Linked DNA regions of Homo sapiens: all the other regions are linked to region 5. Evidence: promoter capture Hi-C in 16 types of primary human blood cells and fetal thymus (Javierre and others, 2016). All regions are on one chromosome and are shown on one strand. The core of a region is centred on a gene start or on the middle of the fragment in contact, and the rest is flanking DNA. Distances in the headings are between cores, read along the strand shown.

The links. Contacts are between HindIII fragments. The CHiCAGO score rates a contact against its expected background, and 5 or more counts as called.
Region 1: a contact is called between a fragment that was not itself captured here and the fragment with the promoter of RNASE1 in region 5, in 1 of 17 cell types (erythroblasts). The highest score is 5.4, in erythroblasts.
Region 2: a contact is called between a fragment that was not itself captured here and the fragment with the promoter of RNASE1 in region 5, in 3 of 17 cell types (erythroblasts, M0 macrophages and M2 macrophages). The highest score is 8.2, in erythroblasts.
Region 3: a fragment that was not itself captured here is called in contact with the fragment with the promoter of RNASE1 in region 5 in 1 of 17 cell types (monocytes); the score reaches 6.1 in monocytes.
Region 4: a contact is called between a fragment that was not itself captured here and the fragment with the promoter of RNASE1 in region 5, in 1 of 17 cell types (neutrophils). The highest score is 5.2, in neutrophils.
Region 6: a fragment that was not itself captured here is called in contact with the fragment with the promoter of RNASE1 in region 5 in 1 of 17 cell types (naive B cells); the score reaches 5.4 in naive B cells.
Region 7: the fragment with the promoter of TEP1 here is called in contact with the fragment with the promoter of RNASE1 in region 5 in 1 of 17 cell types (M2 macrophages); the score reaches 5.9 in M2 macrophages.

What each region holds. Positions count from the first base shown.
Region 1 is chr14:20,478,721-20,481,773 of GRCh38, reverse strand. No RefSeq gene overlaps it. Among named protein-coding and RNA genes, the nearest start is that of PNP, 11 kb to the right of the region's middle. The HindIII fragment of the contact is 3,257 bases long and covers 1-2,923 here.
Region 2 is chr14:20,460,845-20,464,033 of GRCh38, reverse strand. PIP4P1 (phosphatidylinositol-4,5-bisphosphate 4-phosphatase 1) reads left to right here and starts at 2,600. Exons shown (of 7, transcript NM_144568.4): 1 at 2,600-2,850; 2 at 3,189. The coding sequence starts at 2,709. RefSeq lists enhancers at 1,936-2,015, 1,348-2,313, 2,316-2,385, 2,314-3,189 and silencers at 2,506-2,915, 2,976-3,145. The HindIII fragment of the contact is 1,182 bases long and covers 852-2,033 here.
Region 3 is chr14:20,523,284-20,526,682 of GRCh38, reverse strand. It overlaps the pseudogene PTCD2P1. Among named protein-coding and RNA genes, the nearest start is that of RNASE10, 19 kb to the right of the region's middle. The HindIII fragment of the contact is 9,274 bases long and covers 1-3,399 here.
Region 4 is chr14:20,313,924-20,317,041 of GRCh38, reverse strand. It overlaps CCNB1IP1 (cyclin B1 interacting protein 1), which reads left to right. Exons shown (of 7, transcript NM_021178.5): 5 at 482-815. The coding sequence starts at 519. Among named protein-coding and RNA genes, the nearest start is that of SNORA79B, 7.8 kb to the left of the region's middle. The HindIII fragment of the contact is 4,318 bases long and covers 1-3,118 here.
Region 5 is chr14:20,801,177-20,804,252 of GRCh38, reverse strand. RNASE1 (ribonuclease A family member 1, pancreatic) reads left to right here and starts at 1,409. Exons shown (of 2, transcript NM_002933.5): 1 at 1,409-1,456; 2 at 2,160-3,025. The coding sequence starts at 2,185. The coding sequence ends at 2,655. The region is part of intron 3 of LOC105370397 (a long non-coding RNA gene); the gene reads right to left. The HindIII fragment of the contact is 7,079 bases long and covers 1-3,076 here.
Region 6 is chr14:20,358,738-20,362,172 of GRCh38, reverse strand. No RefSeq gene overlaps it. Among named protein-coding and RNA genes, the nearest start is that of PARP2, 17 kb to the right of the region's middle. The HindIII fragment of the contact is 2,261 bases long and covers 456-2,716 here.
Region 7 is chr14:20,411,524-20,415,045 of GRCh38, reverse strand. It overlaps TEP1 (telomerase associated protein 1), which reads left to right and starts at 1,545. Exons shown (of 55, transcript NM_007110.5): 1 at 1,545-1,641. It also overlaps the pseudogene RNA5SP382. RefSeq lists enhancers at 1,342-1,391, 1,892-1,961, 2,512-2,681, 1,791-2,707. The HindIII fragment of the contact is 9,686 bases long and covers 1-2,983 here.

The sequences.
Region 1 (3,053 bases), core at 46-2,545, 320 kb after region 5:
AGAAGGCACAGCACAGAATGAATAGCTCTCTTCTTCCCAACTTCTTGCTTTAAAGGAGCAGCAGGTGGCATTACCTCTTTGTGTCTATTCCTATTAGTAATCAACAAACGAACTGAGAAGTGGCAAAAAAAATTAAGACCATATTCTCCCTTTGCTTCTAAAAAACTGGAGGTGACAGACATATATCCTTGGCAGCATTGATGTAAGTCATCAAGAAGGCACACTAATTCATTGATGTGAAAAGATCTCCAAGATATGTTAAAATAAAATAGCAAGATACAGAAAGTATATATAACATACTAACTGCTGTTTATAATAAGAGAAGAAAAATAGAATTTGTATTTGTTTATATTTGTATAGATCCTGGAAGAATGCAAAAGAAACTAATAACAGTGGTCACCAGTGGGTGGGGAAGGAAGGGCATATGAGGACAGGATAGGGGTGAGAGTTCTCACTATACACATTTTATGTTGCTTAATTTTTGAACTATGTGATTATATACCTATTCACAATTTTATATTAAAAAGAAGGGGAAACTATTGACTTAAGTGTATATTTTCATCTCTAAGTTGTTTGCACTTTTGCCTCTACATTCTATTTTATAACAGCTTATTCCTTTTGTGTGTGTGTGTGTGTGTGTGTGTGTGTGACAGAGTCTTGCTCTGTCACCTAGGCTGGAGTGCAGTGGTATGATCATGGGTCACTACAGCCTCGATCTCCCAGGCTTGAGCCAGCCTCCCACCTCAGCCTCCCGAATAGCTGGGACTACAGGTGTGCACCACCATGCCCAGCTAATTTTTAAATTTTTTGTAGAAACAAGGTCTCACTATGTTGCCTAGGCTGGTCTCAAACTCCTGAACTCAAGCAGTCCTCCTGTCTTGGCCTCCCAAAGTGCCGGGATTACAGGCATGAGCCACTGTGCCCGGCTAATTTATTCTTTAAAACACTACAGAAGACCCCAACCTGACTAAAAATTAAATACTTAACACCAACCATTGTGCTATTCTGTACAGTTAATTTTGGGTGAAAGTAATTCTACTATCAAAACAAGCCTCTCTTTTAGTCAGGCTTCTAGCCACCAAAATACTACAGTGCAATTTTTATCTACCAGTCCTTCGTTTAAAAACTGTCAATGGCTGGCCATCTTGCCTAGAAAATAAGGTCTTACTCTTTCATTTTGTTTTGCTTTTGAGAGACAGGGTCTCACTCTGTTGCTCAGGCTGGAGCGCAGTGGCTCCATCATGGCTCACTGAAGGCTCAGCCTCCCCGACTCAAGCAATCCTCCCACCTCAGCCTCCCAAGTAGCTGGGACCACAGGCAACCACCATCATGCTCAGATAATTTTTGTAATTTTTGTAGAGACGAGGTTTCCCCATATTGCCCAGGCTGGTCTCGAACTTGGTCTTGAACTCCTGGGCTCAAGTGATCCGCCCACCTTGGCCTCCCAAAGTGCTGGGATATAGGCGTGAGCCACCGCACCTGGCCCTAAGGTCCTACTCTTGAGCCTGGAATCAGAGCTCCTCTCCAGCTTGCTGCCCATCTTCCCATTTATTTCTTCACTTTAAGCATTTCAGTTTGTTCAATGATTAAACATTCCTGGATTCATCTGTATGTAATGGCTTCTGCCATGTCCTCTTCACCTATCTTTTTTTTTTTTCAAAGATGGAGTCTTACTCTCTCACTTAGGCTAGAGTGCAGTTCCGCAATCATAAAGCCCACTGCAGCTTCAAACTCCTGCGTTCAAGTGAATCTCCCACCTAGTATGTGTGATTATAGGCATGAGCCACTGTGCCTGGCATTTCTGTAAGGCCTAAATAATGTCTCATCAATCCTTTCCTACTCCCCAGCTCCGGTGATGGTCCTCTTCTCTCAATTCCTGTAGCACATACCATCATTGACACTTAGCATACGCTACTTTTCACACATTACTGTACTCCTTTTGTAAAAAATTAGGCCCTCTTCCTCAGTTCAGTCGAAAAAGCTGATTCTAAACAATGACAATATAACATATGAAGAGATTAGTAAAAGTCTTTAGCAGCTATAAAGGGCTCAAATAACTCAGCCTAGTTATTTCTTTTTATGCATACATCTTGTCTCACATCTAGACTGTAGACACTTCATCTTATACCAACTTACATTTTGGTTTTTAGGACAATGTTCTCTACATAATACATGATTAATGAATATTTATTGATGCTAATAAAGATGGTCATGATAGGGTCAAGAAAGCAAGCCTGACTTCAATGTGTTTGGACACCTACCATGAGACTCAGTAAAATCAATCTATTTTGCAGGCATTCTGCAGGCCCCTCCAGAAATGAATGGTATCATCGCCAGTTTTTTTCAAGAATGTCTTTTCTCTGGAAAGCCCTCCCACACCTACTTCCCTTCACTTTGTGCTCGTATCCTACAATCCTAAACTGATACGTTCGGTTTTGGCTGGACTGGTTGGCTTTTTAAAATCAGACACTCGATCAACAAAATGTGGTGTATCCATGCAATAGAATATTATTTGGCCTCAAAAAAGAATTAAGTACTGATACATGCTACAACTTGGATGCATCTTGAAAACATTATGCTAAGTGAAAGAAGCCAGCCACAAAAGTCCAATTCCATTTGTGTGAAAGTCCAACATAGTTAAATCTATAGGCACAGAAGGTAGATAAATGGCTGTTTGGGGCTATGGGGGAGCAGATAACGTTTCCCTTTGAAGTGATGAAATGATCTCAGATTAACTGGCAATAATTGCACTTATTTGTGAATACACTAAAGACCATTGAATCACACACCTTAAATGGGTGAATTCTATGGTACGTAAATTTTATCTCAATACAGCTGTTTTTTAAAAAAGAAACTGAAGACATTATGTCTTCATATAAATAAATATGAATTTAGTAAATCTACTTACTAAGTCTAAAAAGCTTACATATTCCACTCTTAAATATTCCACTCAAGTATCTCTAGGACATATTTTTCAGATGGCCCCATTGTGATTCCTGGTCAATCTGACCAAGAGGGAGACTGGGGGTAGGAAAGCCAAGTGCCAAATGCAG
Region 2 (3,189 bases), core at 193-2,692, 340 kb after region 5:
ATATAGTCTTGCCTTCCCTGTCCACATCACAGTGGGTTCTGAAATAAAATGAATATAACTATGAATGTGCTTTATTGGCCGGGCACAGTGGCTCACGCCTGTAATCCCAGCACTTTGGGAGGCCGAGGCGGGTGAATCACGAGTTCAAGTGATTGAGACCATCCTGGCCAACATGGTGAAACCCCATCTCTACTAAAAATACAAAAATTAGCTGGGTGTGGTGGCACACACTTGTAATCCCAACTACTCGGGAGGCTGAGGCAGGAGAATCGCTTGATCCCGGGAGGTGGGCAGAGATCACACCACTGCACTCCAGCCTGGCGACAGAGTGAGACTCTGTCTCAAAAAAAAAAATGCTTTATTAACTGTGAGCAAGTTCCAAATATTATGATTACTTTTTGCATTTTTCTGCCTATTGATCTACTCAACAACACAGAGCTCAGATCCTAGTTATCCATGCACAATACTCATTTTTCTTTATGTTTTAGAAGTTTTCTCTGGCTGCTCTAGCTAGAAGTGATCTCTTCTTTTCTTGAACTTGAATTACATTGTTTAATTCTTTTATTATGAAGCATGTGCTGTATCATGAATTTCTAGTATTGATATTTTTCCATGTAATAAAATACTAGTGCTGATTTTCTTTTTTTTTTTTTTTTTTTTGAGACACGATCTTGCTCTGTTGCCCAGGTTTAGATCATGGCTCATTGTAACCTTGAACTCCTGGGCTCAAGCAATCCTCCACCTCAGCCTCCCAAAACACCGGGATTACAGGCATGAGCCACCACTCCTGACCTGATATGTTATACTGTCAATGTTTACACTATTCTGTCTCCCTACCCAGAGTGTAAGCTTTTTTAAGGAGTGTCTTTCACAAAGTGTAGATATTTAAAAAATATTTTTAGGACAGTTTTTGGAATATATGTGTAACTAGGGCGCAAATAATGGATCCTACTCCAACCCCAGACAATGCTTGAGCATCTGTGTGCCACAAACAGCAGAAAAAGCAGCAGACTGGCCTCCCTCTATGGAGCTACAACCTCTTCCCTATTTTGTATCTGGAGCTTCCTTAGTTCTTTAAGTGTCTGTTAGGGGCTCTTATCTAACTGGTCGAAGGTTACTAGCTTCCAAGTAGAAGTTGGCCTGAGAAAACCCTGTCTAAAAAAATCAGGACCTAGGTGAAGTCTCCAGCCCCTGTAGCAGCCAAGTGCTGGGACATCTGCAGTTCCTTTGTTATTACATATTTGGGGCTGGCTGTACTTTCTTTGATGCACTTCCTTTCTTAGTGGAGAGTCTGCTAGCCAAACTGATAATGGACCTCCTCGGGGTTTATTGTTTTTATCAATTCCTTGTTGCTTCCCATATTTAAAGCAGTCCCAGTTTGGGCTATGACTTGGGAAAAAATCCAGGTGTGGTTCAGGCGCCCATAAAGACCACACGAGACTTCAGGTAGGGGAGGAGGCACTGCCCCTTTGCTGGAAGCAAAGTTGAGACAGGCCTAAAGACTGTCCCATCTGTCAAATAAGGTGACGAAAATAACCTTGTATTTGATTAATCCAATCTACAAACTTGTGCGTATGTTAAAGGTTGGTGGTCATAAAACTGAGTAAAGGCACGGTGGCTTGTCCCTGTAGTCCCAGCTACTGGGAAGGCTTAGGCAGGAGATCAAACTCAGGAGTTTGAGTCCAGCATAGGCAAGACCCCATCTCTATTGAATTTTTTTTTTTTTTTTTTTAGTAAAACGATGAAATCTTCTAGTAGTGGAGACACTAATGAAAAGATAATTTAACAATTTGATCAGCAATGGGGAAAGACGGGGCTCTGTAAGGACAGCTTCCAGGAAAACCCAGTCTTGTGTCCTGTCCTGAAAGTGACTCTAGCGACAAAGGCTGGAGTGATAATCTTAACTTTTTAATCCATTTCCTTCTGGTACCTCATTACTCTGACTTTTTAAAGGTACTTCTTTGAGTAGAACAGCTAACTTTGTCTACTGTTCCCCACCGTCCATTTTCTCCCCGCTCAGAAGATCCCAAGCTTCCGCACTCCTTTATTGCACCCGCCCAGCCTCCTTTAAAATGCATAAGCCACGCCCCCCATGTTCTGGCGCTAAGTTCGGGCCAATGCAGTTGCGCCGCTAGGATCACAGGACGAAAGAAGTAAAGTCACCAGCCAATAGGAAACCAGCTACAACGCAAAGCCGGAGAAAAGTGTTTTAGTGGTGTCTTTGAACCAATGAGGAGCAGAGCAACAGGGACCGTGCAGCTTCCAGAAACACGTGACCAGTTGAGCAGACGCAGCCTAGCCCTACCTCCTGGTCTGGAGGTAGCGCGATGGGCGTCGCTCCCAATAGCTTGCAGAACCTCTAGTCACGTGCAGGTTTTGCAAGCCCAGCAGCATCTGGCAGGTCATGTGACAGTTGACGTTTGTGCGTCGCTCCCCAATGGAAAAGGAGAGCTGCCTTCACAGGACCAGGAATTGGTTTATCTACGCGAATAATAGCATGACCCGGGCGGGGATAGCCTATCACGTGCTGCTAGACGGAACGGGGCGGGGCAGGCCACTGGTTGCGGAGTGAGCTGGGCGCGCGGCGCGCAGGCGCCCTGGGGACCCGGTAGCGGCGGTGGCGGTGGCGGCGGTGGCGGTGGCTGCGGCGACGGCAGAGGCGAAGGGAGCCGGATCGCCGACCTGAGCGGGAGGCGGCGGTGGCGGCCATGGCGGCAGATGGAGAGCGTTCCCCGCTGCTGTCTGAGCCCATCGACGGTGGCGCGGGCGGCAACGGTTTAGTGGGGCCCGGCGGGAGTGGGGCTGGGCCCGGGGGAGGCCTGACCCCCTCCGCACCACCGTACGGAGCCGGTAAACATGCCCCGCCCCAGGGTAAGCCGGGGCGGGTCCGAGGTGCTCCCCGGGGTACTCTGAAAGCCGGGGAGGGGGCGGGACCGAGGGCGGAGGCGGGTCCCAGTCGCCAGGTGCGGGACTGCTGCACCTGTGACTGGGCGAGGCTTCCTTCCCTCCGTAATCGCGACCACAGCCTAGGGACGGAAGGGGGTTCTGAGCAACCTGATAGAAGTGCCAATTATGAGAAGCCCTCCGAGCTTGGTCAGAGGGTTGAAGATCAGAAGGACTTCCCTACCACCGTGGAGCATCAGTGGGGGTGTAAGTGATCCCAGCCCTTCTATTTGCTTCCTCTCCAGC
Region 3 (3,399 bases), core at 152-2,651, 280 kb after region 5:
AAAATGATTAGCATAGTATTAAGTTAGAAAGGTAAACAAGAGAACTGAAATATAGCTATATTAGGAAGAGGGGAGGGAGGTGGAGTTGAGCTAAACCTTAATATGTTGTAAAGTCAATAGACCTTTGATGGATTAGTGAGTACAGGACACCTTTCCTAGTAGAGGACACCATTAGAGGGAATTCGTTTGAGGGAAAACAGCCTGCAAATTATTTATTTATTTATTTGAGATGGAGTCTTCCTCTGTCACCCAAGCTGGAGTGCAGTGGCACGATCTCAGCTCACTGCAACCTCTGCCTCCCAGGTTCAAGGAATTCTCCTGCCTCAGCTCCCAAGTAGCTGGGATTACAGGCGCCCACCACCATGCCCAGGTAATTTTTGTATTTTTAGTAGAGACAGGGTGTCACCATGTTGGCCAGGCTGGTCTTGAACTCCTGACCTCATGATACACCTGCCTCAGCCTCCCAAAGTGCTGGATTATAGGCATGAGCTACCATGCCCAGCCCAAATTACTTACGATTGGAAATCACCTTAATGTGACAAAAGAGGGAATACTTAAATAAATCACATTACATTAATAGAATAAAATATATCGAGTAAAACTTTTTAATGACTACTCAACAATATGGAAAATTCTATTATATAATAGAATTTTCAAAAGATATAAGTCCTCTTTCCCTAACCTTCCCTTTCTAAACCATTTAGTCCTAAAGCCACCAGGTGGGGCAGAACAAGGTCATAGACATTGATGAGGAGGGGCCATCTGGCACAGGAATAAGAACTCAGAACCCAAGAGAGATGAAAAGGTGTCCCTGGTGAGGGATGTCTGAGGGGGCTGAGAGGGGAACACAGCCTGCAGAATCACAGCCTGAGCAAGTGGAGGAGATGTCCACTCAGAGGGGTTGCCTAGTGTGAGATATCCAGGCCCAAATGGTGGACACCCATGTAGAGGGGCAGCCCTGGCACAGAGTGTCAGAGCCAGAGTGGGCAAAGGGCATCCATATGGGAGGGGGAATGGCGGCAGCAAGGTGAGATTGGTTACATACATGAAGATGCATGCAATAAGCAACTATATTAAAGAATATGGGAGAAGAAATTTATAAGTCAAAAAGTTATAAATAAGAAAATTAAGATATAAATATGGGAAGAGAAAACCTAATATGAGCTTGTGGGGTTGGATTTGAATTGAGGTATTGGTATAAACGTATGGTTTTCAATATAGTTACATAAAGAAAATACATGTGAGAACTTACATGTTACATAAAGAAAATACATGTGCTGCACTTAGGCCCTCGAATCGAGTTCTCCTGCAGGTTGCTGCAGATTTCGGTGTATCCTGGGGTGGGAGCCTCCAGCTTTGCCTGTGGCTGCTGTCCTTTCAGAGCTAACAGATACCTACTTACAGATAGTATTGTGAAATTAAAAGAATTTCAGCACAAGAAGGTGGCTGTTGCATGTAATCTTTCCTAAAGAAACCTATTTTAGGAATTTGGAAGAGAAACTGACAAGCTCATCTTGAAGGGGGAGTTGATAACCTTACTTTATTTTTGTGGGTCCCAGGACCATGTGGAGCTGGCTACAAATGTCATTTACAGGTACCATGCAGGGAACAGAAATATCACTTTGGGGGAGTATAGGTTTGGACCACTTTTCATGAGTCTGTTATGGGTTGGATCTTGAGGGGCTCATGAAAGACCAGCATTTATGAGATTCCTTCTCAGATTCCACATCATTCAATATTTTGATGGATATGTTATTTATCAAAGGCAAATATAAAAGTGCTTTGGAAGTATTGATAGAGATGAAAAATCAAGCTGTGAAATTCACCAAATATCCTATGTTCTTAGTTTTGCAGTTTGCAACAAACTGAAGAGCGCTGAGTCTTTCAAAATCTGTTCTGCATTAACAGAAGAAGCCCCACTCAAAGGAGAGGTTCCCTCCAGGAGAGCATCCCGTTTCTTTGTGGCGTTAGCTCTGAATCAGAACCAAGTGGCAAAAGCTATGTCCATTTTTTTCTCAAACCATGAATCCAGAAAGCATAGCCTGCACTAACTTAACTATTATAATCCATATCCAGTCAAATATGTTGGAAACCCTGATAGAGACACTAAAAAAATGCTGCAGAAGGAAATTTATTAAAATTTGTGAAAAGACATGCATTCTCAGAGGAAGTGCTGGCAAAAGTGAAGGAAAAGTGAAGGATATGCCTGCCCTTGTGGCCAGATTTAATGAGATCTATGGAAAACTGCACATCAGTGGCCAGGTCACCACTTGTACTTTGGGTACTCTGCTCTGCCACACCCCCAGGGACAGGAAATCCCATATGTTGCTATTAAACAAGAGGATGATGAGCCATTGGACCTTCCAGCCACTCAACCGGTCCTTTTTGGCTGAGTAATAATCCTCATTTCATCCACCTGTGGATCTGAAGGGCCTGCTTCTAGTGAGTTGTTGCCTTCCCTAAGAAGCAGGCATTGCACTTCAGTAGACGCTGTGCTGACACTTAGCCTCCTCTTGAAATTCCCAAGTTCACTGAATGGTGGCATGTTGATCTCTGAGAAGTTATGTTGCACTACTGTGAAGGTCTACATGCAAGCATGGTTCCCTCAGAAAGGAGCTTCCCTTGTACACTGCTGAGGATACCTGAAGGAACATGGTCAGTCTCCAGTCCAGCTTCCAGCACCAGAATGGAATCCAGCAAGCACCACAGGAATGAATTTCACTACAAGTGTGGTCACTCTGATTTTCAAGGGAGTAGTTACTTGTAAATTACATCCTTGCTGAATTCAAGAGGTCTGAAACCCTATTCTATCATGTTAGAAAATAGCCCAGGATTTCCTCACTGATCTGCCATCATATATTTCTATGACTTGAGCCCTCATTTTTCCATATGCAAAACAATAATGCCTATGCGTATTTGCATATAGATTTGAAATCTTCATGCAAAGTTCAGTAGGATCAGATTTTCTCAAAAATAAGAGAAATAAAAAAGGTTTGTAAGCAAAAATTAAAAAAACGAAAGAAAGAAAAAAGAGAAAATACATGCAAATACATGTGAGTGTGAGTGTGATTGGCTATTTGCCATATTCCCACCTATGTCCACTGAGACAGCCTTAGAGCTCTCTCACCCCAACAGCAATGAGCACCTACCTAGCACCCAGATCCAGGTTTCAAAATACTGTTCGTCACTAAACACAACCAGGTCATCTTAGAAAAATGACTGGTTCCAGGGGAAGGAAAATATAAAATGAGCTTGGACCATCTTGTAGTTTCTAAAAGCAAGGAACTGCCTAAATAATGATGGGGAGGCTGGGCATGGTGGCTCATGCCTGTAATCTCAGAACTTTGGGAGGCCGAGGCAGGAGGACCCCTTGAGCCCAGGAGTTCAGAGACCGGCCTG
Region 4 (3,118 bases), core at 366-2,865, 490 kb after region 5:
TGCCTCCCGGATTCAAGTGATTCTCCTGCCTCAGCCTCCCGAGTAGCTGGGATTAGAGGCTTGAATCACCACGCCTGGCTAATTTTTGTATTTTTAATAGAGACTGGGTTTCACCATGTTGGCCAGGCTGGTCTGGAACTCCTGACCTGAAGGGACCCCGCCTGCCTTGGCTTCCCAAAGTGCTGGGATTGTACGCTTGAGCCACTGAGCCTGGCCCACGTATATATTATTTTTGACGTTAGCAAGATCTGTAACCACCTTTGTCTTTACCTTTGTCCTTAAAGCGTTTTTAGAAAACCGGACAAACGAGCACAATTAATATTATTGAGTAACTGAAATCAATATATCAATTATAATAAATACAAGGAATATAATAAAATGTGCAGTATTTTATGATAAAAACGTGCATGTTATATTTCTTTTTTACTTTTATTTTCATTGCAATTTAACTTACTTGGCCTTTTTATTTACCCCTTCTTAGGCCTCTCTTCAGCTTCTGGAGACCTCACTATCCTATTATGTCTTTGTGTGAAGACATGCTGCTTTGTAATTATCGAAAGTGTCGCATCAAACTCTCTGGCTATGCATGGGTCACTGCCTGCTCTCACATCTTCTGTGATCAGCATGGCAGTGGTGAGTTTAGTCGCTCACCAGCTATCTGTCCTGCCTGCAACAGTACCCTTTCTGGAAAGCTAGATATTGTCCGCACAGAACTCAGTCCATCAGAGGAATATAAAGCTATGGTATTGGCAGGACTGCGACCAGAGATCGTGTTGGACATTAGCTCCCGAGCGCTGGCCTTCTGGACATATCAGGTTAGTGCTTAGTCTAGTTTCTCTTGAGCATGTGATTTATGGCATTTGTGGGAACTTCTAGTGTCTTTCCTTCATTGTATTATTATTAATTTTTTATGAGTATATGAGAAACTCTTTTTATTAAATTGTTTTCAAAAGCAATACTGTTTATTGTTGAAAATCAAAAGGAAGAAAATTAAAGCACTCATAATTCCATCACTCAGAGATAACCATTGTTTATATTTTGGGTATACACACACACACACTCACACACTCTCTCTCTCTTCTGTATAAAAGTAAGATAACACACACACTTTTATTGTTAAGAGTTGACAGTATATTATATCTGGTATGAATTTTTCTTCCTTTTGAGACGGGGTTTTCTTGTGTTGCCCAGGCTAGTCTCTAACTCCTGGGTTCAAGCCATTCTCCCGCCTCAGCCTCCTGAGTAGCCTGTGCTTCACTTGGTATGAATATCTTGTTAAATATTTTTTAGTTAACTATTCTATAATCATATTTTAATGGTTATATTGTATCATAATTTATTTCCAAGTTATTAAAATGCTATGATAAGCATTCTTATCAAATACGCATCCTTAACTTTTTCCCTTTATGATTTCTACTTTTAGTATTTCCTTTGAAAGACCTCCCTGTGGATGACTTTAAGCATGTCCTTGAATGTATTGTTATATCTTACATATACACTTATACTTCTTAAGGATGTTTGTCATCTGTCAAGTAACTTTTTATTATATTTTTCTGGGTAAGTTGTTTCTCTTACATGCTCCTCTATTTTTCAACTCCTTTGGTTAAATACCAAATAGTGTTTTTGCTGGCTTATGTGGTGAGAGTATGTTTATTTTTGTAAGCAACTGCCAAATTGTCTTCCAAAGTGGCTATACCATTTTATATTGCCAGCAGCAATGAATGAGAATTCCTGTTGCTCCACATCTTTGCCAGAAGTTGGTATTGTCCATGTTCTGGGTCTTGGCCATTTTAATAGGTGTATAGTGGTGTCTCATTTTAATTTGCATGTCTCTGATGACATATGATGTGGAGCATCTTTTCATATGCTTTTTTGCCTTTTTTTTTTTTTTTTTTTTTTTTTTTTGGTGAGGTGTATATGAAGTTCTTGGTCTTTTTTTTTTTTTTTTTTTGAGACGGAGTCTCGCTTTGTTGTCCAGGCTGGAGTGCAGTGGCGCGATCTCAGCTCACTGCAAGCTCTGCCTCCCGGGTTCACGCCATTCTCCTGCCTCAGCCTCCCGAGTAGCTGGGACTACAGGCGCCCGCCACCACGCCCGGCTAATTTTTTGTATTTTTAGTAGAGGCGGGGTTTCACCGTGTTAGCCAGGATGGTCTCGATCTCCTGACCTCATGATCCGCCCACCTCTGCCTCCCAAAGTGCTGGGATTACAGGCATGAGCCACCGCGCCCGGCCGAGTTCTTGGTCTATTTTTAAATTGTTTTCTTATTGTTGAGTTTTAAGTGTTCTTTTTATCCTTACTGTTGAGTTTGAAGTATTCTTTGATCCTTTATCAGAGCTATCTTTTGCAAATATACTCTCCTGATCTGTGGCTTGTCTTTTTATTCTCTTACAGGGTCTTTCACAGAGCAGAGATTTTTAAGTTTAATGAAGTCCTGCTTATCAATTTTCTCTTTCACGGATTATACCTTTGGTGTATTTTAAAAGTCACTGCCAAATCCAAGATCCACCTGGATTTTACCCTATGTTATCTTCTGGGAGTTTCATAGTTTTGCATTTTATGTTTAAGTCTGTGAACCATTTTGAGTTTATTTTTGTGAAAAGTATAAGATCTGTCTAGATTCATTGGGTCCTCAATTTTTTGCTGGCTATTGGCCAGAGGCTGTTCTTAGTTACTTGTCTCTTGGGCCTTCCTGACATGACTGCTTGCTTCCTCAAAGCCAGCAAGGGAGTGTGTCTCCTAGTAAGACAGACCTTATAGTCTTAGGTAATATACTTATGAAGTGACAACCTGTCACATTTTCTGTAGTATTCTAGTCACAGGTCCTGCCCACGTGCAAGGGGATAGGGAGTTACACAAGGGTGTATGTACCAGGAGACGATAATTTGTGGTTGTCTTAGAGTCTATTCTTCATGCTCTGGATTACTTGAAAAATGGGATTATATTTCTTAAAAACCTTTGGAAAACATGTCACTTGTTAAGACAAATACTCAGTTCTTTTGGTGGTATAAAGTTAGTGGTTTGAGAGTATTCTTCCAGACTTTTTTTCTATGCATTTAGTAACATAACTTATTGTTTTCTGTGCCTCATTGTGTATCCTGATTGCTTCTTAAACTGGGT
Region 5 (3,076 bases), core at 160-2,659:
TAACTTGACTATTCAAGAGAATAAAAGTATTATTAAAGACTCAGAAAAATAAAATACAGGTGGGGGCTGGGGGAGTAAGGAAACTGTAGGGGCCAAGGAAAAATTCCCCTTTCACCCTCCAAAGGTTTGCTGAAAATCAACTGACAAAAGACAGATTGATAGGAAAAAACGCATACAAATTGATTTGATCGTAGTTTTACACGACACGGGAGCCTTCAGAAGACCCAAAGATAACAGGGGAAAGTGGGCATTCTTACACTTGGATATCAACAAAGTATGAACAGCTGTGTAGAAATATGACTGGACAACAGGGCGATCTAATGAAAATAGACTGAGTGGGGAAACCCAGCAAGGCCTCCCTGTCTAGATTCTTCTTGGCCTCTCTGAGCATTCGTCCTTTTTTTCTGGGTATGGGGGGCAGGACCCTCTCTGGAATGAGGATCTTACGACCTACAATCACACAAGGTAGGTCAGATAATTTCACTATGGCCACTTTTTACACAGAAAGGCTGAAACAATCTGAATACACAGCACGAAGGGATATTTTGATAATTCTTAGAGGTATCCAAATTGTTACTCAGCAAAAAAACAGGTCTCTTTCTAGGAGGGCATTCTGCTGCTAATAAATATGATATTCTTTGTATTTTTTCCCCAAAAAGAATTTGAGATTTGGGATTTAAGTTTATCTTTAGTTCCTCTACTCAATTCCGACCTACAGGGTCAGTGGTTACTGTAGATAAGAACAGCCCCATCCTCTCGATGCCCCCAGAGCAGGGGTGGAGGGTGGGTGGGAAGTGGCCAGAACTGGGTGAGCGCACCCTAGAGGCCTCCTCCTCCTCCCTATTCAGTTACTCCCCCTTTCTTCTCCAGATCTGGGAAGCCTTCCAGCTGGGGGCAGCAGGACAGCCTCCATTCCCCCCGACCCCGCCTCCCATCCCCGGGAGAGGTAGCGTTGGGAGAATGCCCTCCTAGAAAGAGACTTGGGTTTTGCTCCCTAGGAGCCCTGGAATAGCTTTGGCCAGAATTCCCTATCTCCCATTAGAACCTCTCCTTTGCGTCCTTTGTTAACCTCCAAGTCTACTTGGTGAAAACGCCCACGAAGAAGTAACAAGGACTTTGTTCCTAGTGTGCCAGGTTTGGGCACCAGTGCTGTAGTGGCTTTCTCTGCTGCTCCTTGTGCATCAGCAGACAGATGTGGTTCACATAGGAAGAAAGACTAACGTAGGCAAAGATTTGCTCTTTCTTCAGCAGCCCTAGAAAGACGGCGGCCTGGGTGATTCACCACTCCTTCCTCACGTCCTTGATTTTATTTGAACTGAGCTCCAGATGCTCCTCCCACCCTTTTCCTCTTGGAAGCCAAACCCCTTTGTAATCTGTATAAGGTCCACACCCCGGGAGCTGAGTGATTGCAGAAACTGGCCTTCCATCTCTCTCAGACACCAAGCTGCAGATCCAGGTAAGCAGCCCAAGAGGTGTTCTCAGGTGCCGCTTCTGCTTCAGGGTTGCAGAAGAGGGAGCTAGGGCCAGTCCACAGCACTGAGAAAGATTGGGTGATGCTAGCGCTGAAAAAATGTGGCCCAGGCAAACATCAGCTGGGGGCAGAGGGGTCAGGGTGGAACGTGCAGGCTGCAGAGCATCCATGGGACTGGAGAAGAAGGAGCCTCCAAATTGGGGGAGGCCAGCGTTTCTCTCTGGAATACAATGGAATCTTTTATGATGCCAGTGTCAGGCACTGGCCTGAGTTCCCTTATGCTCCAAGACAACAAGGCTCTGTCACCCATGGCCCTGGATGTCGGGGATACAATTTGGTTCATGATTTATTCAAACTGATGTTTCGATGAGCCATTTGAGCACTGGGTACAAATGTATTTTGGATCAAAGAAACTCCAGTATTCAAAGATAGGAACTGACAGGATTTTAGGTCACTTTGTAGGTCACCACCTAGAGGGGAGGAAGACCTCGCTTTGGAGAGTGGGAATAAAACGCTCGTGGAAAAGGGTACACGTGAGTGTCTCATTACACGAAAAACCTCAGGAAGTAGGATGGACGTCTTTCTGGCTGACCTGAAACAGAAAGTGTAAACCAGGCAAGCCATAGGTGGGAGCTGGAGTTCTTTTTCTAAGAGGGCTCTTTTCCTTCTCTCTCCTTTTCTCAATTAGGCTTTTCTGGGAAAGTGAGGCCACCATGGCTCTGGAGAAGTCTCTTGTCCGGCTCCTTCTGCTTGTCCTGATACTGCTGGTGCTGGGCTGGGTCCAGCCTTCCCTGGGCAAGGAATCCCGGGCCAAGAAATTCCAGCGGCAGCATATGGACTCAGACAGTTCCCCCAGCAGCAGCTCCACCTACTGTAACCAAATGATGAGGCGCCGGAATATGACACAGGGGCGGTGCAAACCAGTGAACACCTTTGTGCACGAGCCCCTGGTAGATGTCCAGAATGTCTGTTTCCAGGAAAAGGTCACCTGCAAGAACGGGCAGGGCAACTGCTACAAGAGCAACTCCAGCATGCACATCACAGACTGCCGCCTGACAAACGGCTCCAGGTACCCCAACTGTGCATACCGGACCAGCCCGAAGGAGAGACACATCATTGTGGCCTGTGAAGGGAGCCCATATGTGCCAGTCCACTTTGATGCTTCTGTGGAGGACTCTACCTAAGGTCAGAGCAGCGAGATACCCCACCTCCCTCAACCTCATCCTCTCCACAGCTGCCTCTTCCCTCTTCCTTCCCTGCTGTGAAAGAAGTAACTACAGTTAGGGCTCCTATTCAACACACACATGCTTCCCTTTCCTGAGTCCCATCCCTGCGTGATTTTGGGGGTGAAGAGTGGGTTGTGAGGTGGGCCCCATGTTAACCCCTCCACTCTTTCTTTCAATAAAACGCAGTTGCAAACACCTGATTTCTGAAGCGGTTCTGTCTAGGTACTGTTTCTGGCATTGCCTTCCAGCAAGGGGTAAGAACTGTAAATCTGATTCACTTTGGAGAACGGTGAATGGAGTAATTAAATGCCTTCCCTTCTGACTTGGATTTTAGTGGCTTGAGAAAATTCCTTTCCTTGTAGATTCCCTGATGCCAAAC
Region 6 (3,435 bases), core at 337-2,836, 440 kb after region 5:
GGCTTCTTTCAATTAGAATAATGTTTTCAAGGTTCATCCATGCAGTATCAGTACTTCATTCCATTTTATGACGGAATAATATTGCATTGGATGGATATACTTTTTATGTTTTTACAGCTTTATTGAGTTATGATTGGCATGCAATAAACCACACATATTTAAAATACACAATTCGATAAAGCTTGACATATATATATATTAATAAAATTATTACCACGGTCAAGATAGTTAACATATCTAACAGGAATAAACCACATTTTGTTTATCCATTTATTGGTTGATGGATGTTTGGAGTGTTTCTACTTCTTGGCTATTATAAATATTGTTGCTATCAATATGCATGTACAAATTTTTGTGTGAACATTGCTTTTTTATTCTCTTGGTTATACACCTAGTAGTGGAATTGCTAGGTCCTGATAACTCTTATGTTCAACTATTTGAGGAACTGCCAAGCTTTTCCAAAGCAGCTGCACCACTTTATATTCGCACTAGCAATGTGTGAGGATTTTTATTTGTCCATATCTTTGCCGAGATTTGTTAGTCTCAGGCCTTAGCCTCCTGAGTAGCTGGAATTACAGGCAAATGCCACCACGCCTGGCTAATTTTTCATATTTTTGCTAGAGATGGGGTTTCACCATGTTGGCCAGGCTGGTCTCAAACTCCTGACCTCAGATGATCTGCCTGCCTCTGGCTCCCAAAGTGCTGGAATTACAGGCGTGAGCCACCACACCCGGCCAAGAGTTTTAAATTTTGACGAAGACCAACTTATTTCTTTTGCTTGCTTGTGCATTGGTGTCATATTTAAGAAACTGTTGCTTAATCCAAGGTCACAGAGATTTCTCCTTATGCTCTAAGAGCTTTTTAGTTTTAGCTTACATTTAGGCCTTTGATCCATTTTAATTTTTACGTAGTGTGAGATAGTGTTCCTAATTTATTACTTTGCATGTGGATATCCAAGTCGTCCCAGCACCATTTGTTGAAAAGACTATTTTTCCCCCATTGAATGGTCTTGGCACCCTTGTTGAAAACCAATTGACCATATTTGCTTGGGTTTATATCCAGACTCTCAATTCTATCCCATTGATTTCTATGTCTATCCTATGTCATTATCACATTGTCTTGAGTACTGTAGCTTTTTCAAGATTGTTTTTGTTATTCATGATCTTTGTAATTCCTTATGAATTTTTCTTGGCCATTTCTGCAAAAAAAAAGGATAATGGAATTTTAATAGGAATTGTATGGAATCTATAGGTTGCTCTGGGAAGTATTACCATTTTAATAATAAATTTTCCAATCTACGAACACTTGTAGATTGAAAACTACAGAACTGTTGACAGAAATTCAAGACCTAAATAAATAGGTCTTAGCTGGGTATGGTGGCTCAAGTGTGTAATCCCAGCACTTTGGGAGACTGAGGTGGGCCTTGAGGTCAGGAGTTCAAGACCAGCCTGCCAACATGGTGAAACCCCATCTCTACTAAAAATACAAAAATTAGCTGGGTGTGGCGGTGCACACCTGTAATCCCAGCTACTTGGGAGGCTGAGGCCGGAAAATCACTTGAACCCGGGAGGCAGAGGTTGCATTAAGGGAAGATTGTGCCACTGCACTCCAGCCTGGGCAACAGAACAAGACTCTGTCTCAGATAAATAAATAAATAAATAAATAAAGGTGGCCTTGAATGTTTTTCAATAGTTTTGTAGTTATCAGTGTACAAGTTTCATGCTTCTTTGGTTAAATCTATTCCTAGTGTTTTATTCTTTCTGACGCTATTATAAATGGAATTGTTTTCTTAATTTTTCAGATTATTCTTTACTAGTGTGTAGAAATAGAAATACAATTCATAGGCCAGGCGTGGTGGCTCACACCTGTAATGCCAGCACTTTGGGAGGCCAAGGTGGGTGGATCACCTAAGGTCAGGAGTTCAAGACCAGCCTGGGCCCAACATGGTGAAACCCTGTCTCTACTAATAATACAAAAATTAGCCAGGCATGGTGGCACATGCCTGTAATCCCAGCTAGTTGGGAAGCCGAGGCGGGAGGCTGAAGCAGGAGAATCACTTGAACCCGGAGGCAGAGGTTGCAGTGAGCTGAGATCTCACCATTGCACTCCAGCCTGGGCAACAAGAGTAAAATGCCATCTCCAGAAAAATAAATAAAATAAAAAGAAATACAGGCTGGGTGTAGTGGCTCATGCCTGTAATCCCAGCACTTTGGGAGGCTGAGGTGGGAGGATCACAAGGTAAGGAGTTCGAGACCAGCCTGGCTAATATGGTGAAACCCTGTCTTTACTAAGAATACAAAAATTAGGCAGGCGTGGTGGTGGGCACCTGTAGCCCCAGCTCCTCGGGAGGCTGAGGCAGGAGAATCACTTGAGCCCGGGAGGTGGAGGTTGCAGTGAACCAAGATTGCGCCACTGCACTCCAGTCTGGGCAACAGAGCAAGACACTCCGTCTCAAAAAAAAAAAGAAAAAGAAAAAAAAAGAAATACAATTCATCTTGTATCCTACAATCTTGCTGAACTTTTTAGCTCTAAATATGGATTCTTTTGGGCCTTCTCTATAGATCACGTAATTTGCAAATTTAGTTTTATCTCCTTTTTAATCTTGATGCCTTTTTTTTCTTGCTTAAGTACCATGGTTAGAACCTCCAGTACAATATTGAATGGAAGTGGTGAGTGCAAACATCTTGGTCTTATTCCTGATCTTAGAGGATAAGCTTTCAATCTTTCACCATTGTAATGTTAGCTGTGAGTTTTTCATAGATGTTCTTCATAGGGTGGAGGAAGCTCCCTTTCATTCCTACTTTGTTGGATTTTATTTCATTATGAAAAAATGTTACATTTTGCCAAATGCTTTTTCTGCATCTGAGATGATCATGTGATTTTTGCCCTACCTTGGTTTTCAATCTTGCATTACTGTGATAAATCTCACTTGATCATTGTATATAGTCCATTTATAATGTTGCTGGATTAGGCTTGGTAGTATTTTGTTGATTTTTGCAATTATATTGTTAAGGGATATTGGTCTATAATTTTATTTTCTTGTGATATCTTCATCTGGTTTTGGTTTCATTCTGCTTTGTAGAATTAGTTGCAAAGTATTTTCCTCTCTTCTATTCTTTGGAAAAGTATGCAGTCTACTTCAGTTTTAATAGCAGGTTACTTCAGTGAGTAGATATATTTGACTAGTTCCTTATCTATGATCTTTTTGTGTACACCAATGCCTCAGTGACATCTATGCAAACATATATATCTGTAAGTTTTAGGTCAACAGGGCATGAACATTTCAAATTTTGATAGATATTGGAAACCTGGTTTCTAAAAAGTTACAGGAAAAATTTAAACAAACTTCTCTGTTACTTAAGGAAGTGTGTTGTTTATCTGTGTTGTGTGTTTAAATACAATCAGGAAGTCTTTGGATCTGTATTAGTCTGTTTT
Region 7 (3,522 bases), core at 296-2,795, 390 kb after region 5:
CTGCTCAGCTTCCAAGATCAGAGGAGATCGGGCGCGTTCGGGGTGGTATGGCCGTAGACTCCTTTATATCTCTTTAAGAGATTTTACTAATTTTTTGGCCAGGCATGGTGGCTTATGCCTGTAATCCAAGCACTTTGGGAGGCCAAGGTAGGAGGACTATTTGAGCCCTGGAGGTAGAGAGCCTGGGCAACATAGCAAAACCCTGTCTCTACTTTTTGTCTTTAAATTTTGGTTTAAAATTGTGCGTGGGGGTAAGTTACATTCTTTACGAATTATGTTTCAGAAAAATAAAAAGAGCTTTAAAATATTTGTTATAAAAAGGAAATGTTTTAGTTCAGGTTGCTATAACAAATTACCGTAGACCGGGTGGCTTAAACAACAAATATTATTTCTCACAGTTCTAGAGAATGGAAGTCCAAGATCAGATTGCCAGCATGGTCTGCCTCTGAAGATGAGGGTCTTCCTTGGGATTGCAGATGGCTGTTTTCTTGTATCCTCATATCGTGGAAAAAGAGCTAGCTAGCTCTTCCGTCTCTCCTTATGAGGCCACCAATCCCATTTATGAGTATTCTAAACTCCATGACCTAATGACCTCCCAGAGATCCCACCCTAAATACCATCGCATTGGGATTAGGGTTTCAATATATAAATTTTGGGGAGACACAAACATAAAGACCATTGCAGGGAGTGTTGGGACTGGTGGCAATAGAGGTTTCTAAGGAAGGAAAGGGGTACTGGCTCAGTTAATAGAGGACAGAATGCCCTCAATTCTGAGCGGAAGCTCAGCTGTTACCTGAGACTCAAGGGTACCTCTCTAAGGAAAGCAATGATATTTTCCAGAAGACAGCTAATCTGCTTTATATAAAGGCAGAAAGCATATTTCTCCTGCTACTATGTTTGGTCCTCTCTTTATGAAGCTAGGATTATTAACCTAAGGGTCACTTGTCTCTTTCCTAAGCCTGGTTCCATCTTCCTGGAAAGGGTTCAGCATTAATCATTCAGGATGGCTCCAGATAGATTCTGTGTGATCCACGGATCTCTCTTCTGATCAACAGGAGGGGAGGCACTTGCTCTCAGTTCAGCGAACTTTGATTGACTGATGTCTACACTTGGTTACAGGCGGTTGCTTTCCGCTTTCCGTCTCCTTTTAAGGAGTTCCTCAAAGGAACTTTAGGATGAATTGAGTCTGACCGTCTTTGATATTAGGAAGGAGAGGTGTACAGCTAGGCAGCGAGCATGCTAAAATCTTTTCCAGGAAACGGTGTTTGAAGAGTTAATGGGAGAAAAAAAGACGAAAATTAGCCAGAGGAGACGAATTTGGTAGAGGGGGAAGCCCTAGGGACAGGAGAAAATAGGACCAGAAAGGGAAAAAAAATAGAAACAATAACAAACTAAACTCGGGCCCCAGAAAAGGCGGCAGGGGTCCTGGGCATTCGCGTCGCAGCCCTGGCATGTCGTCTTGCCCGGCCCTCGGCTCGCTGCCCTTCCAGCAGCTGCTGCGCCCCGCCCGGGCCCGAGAGTCTCCGCCCGCACCGTCTCTTCTCAGATCCGCATCCGGCTCCTCCCCCGGCTGCCACCCTTCCCACCGGCAGAATCCAGAGCGAAGTTTCTGCTTCCTGCTGCGGGAATCGGACGCCCCAGGTCAGGCACCCAGGGTTTCCAGCCCCAGTCTAAGGTAGGGTCCGAGCGCAGGCAGAACTTGCCCTGGCCCTGGGTCTAGGGCGCTGGGCTCTGAGGCTGAGAGCTGGGTGGGAAGTGCCTGGCGGGGCCGGTTAGGAACCACCCGAGACTCAGCTAGGGGTGCATCCACCCTGCTCCTCCCGGCGGCTCCGGGAAGGGGAGGGAGTGTATACTGCGTGAAAGGGGAGGTGAGAAAGGAGGAGGAGAAGGCTGAAGGAGAGGGAGGGACAGGAAGAGAGACCACGTAAGAATCATCCCCTCTTACTTCCTTGCCCTGTGTGCCCATCGAAAGGGGACAGTGGCTGTCACCAACAAATGGTAGTATGAGAACCGTTTGTGATAATAGAAACCCAGACTGTGCTTAAATGTGCTAGACTACCATACAGCCACTTGAAGAGTGAGGTGGAGGCCGGGCGCGGTGGTTCACGCCTGTAATCCCAGCACTTTGGGAGGCGGAGGTTGGGGATCACCTGAGGTCAGGAGTTTGAGACCAGCCTGACCAACATGGTGAAAACCCTCTCTACTGAAAATACAAAAAAATTAGCCGGGCATGGTGGTGGGCGCCTGTAATCCCAGTTACTCGGAAGGCTAAGGCAGGAGAATCGCTTGAACTCGGCAGGCAGAGATTGCAGTGAGCTGAACAACAGAGCCAGACTCCGCCTCAAAAAAAAAAAAAAAAAAAAAAGGAAAGAGTGAGGTGGGTATTAATGTGTTAACAGGGCAAGGTCTCTGAGATATACTAAGTGCAGAATAGCATCTAACTTATGATCCTGTTTGTGTAAAGCAAAAGCAAAAGCAGTGGTGATGGTGAAGGCATGTATTTGCATATGCATAGAAACTGTGAAACTGTTAGTATAAAACTGTGAGCAATGTTTACTTCCAGAGAAGGGAACTAGAGATGGAAGTGGGGACGGAACTTTAACTTTCCATTTGTGGTTCAGCCGAATCTCCTTTCAAAAACTCCAGGGTGCAAAACAATAAAATGAGCAAAATAGTGAGACTGTCCTTTTAAGGATAGGACAGTCTCACTATGTTGCTCAAATAAACTGTCCTTATTTTTCTGTTTATTTTTGGCTTGAGATCTCTTTTAAAAAAAATCTGAGTCAATTCTGAGTTTCCCCACTCCTTTCCTTGGGGGCTTATATAGGGCAACGACATGAGCAAAGTGTATTGGGCACAGAAGCCATCATTTTTTACGTGTTTGTCACACTGACGTCCAGTGAGATATTGTTGTCCTTTTTGGCCCTGGATTGTTAGTCATTCAGGTCTTCTTGGAAGTGTTCTGTACTTTTGTCCCTAAGCTTTTTCACACTAAGTTTAGGTGGTTGACTTAACAATATTATTCCCAAAATATTTACATATGAATGAGAGATTAGCCTTTGTCCAAATAAGTAAGAAAATACATTCCTTTTTTTTTTTAAATAGAGGTCTCACTATGTTGCCCAGGCTGGTCTTGAACTCCTGACCTCAAGTGATTCTCCCACCTCAGCCTCCCAAAATGCTAGGATTACAGGTGTGAGCCACCACACCCAGCCAGAAAATAGGTTCCTGATGGTATAATTCAAGCATTCTGTTAGGCAGAGGTTTCTAATTTTCAGTTTATGGAGATCCTGGGAGGTCCATAAATGGGCTTCATAGACACTCTGAAAATTGAGCACAAAACAGTATATACTTTTTTTTTTTCTGTGAAAAAGCTCCATAGCTTTTACCAGATTCTCAAAAGCCTCTGAATCCCGCTGACCAGCAATTGTGGGAACAAGGCTAAAAGGGTCTCTCTCCTCAGGAACTTAATGGTCTATTGGGAAGAAAGACAAACAGGTGATGTGCTCTATGATAGGGGAC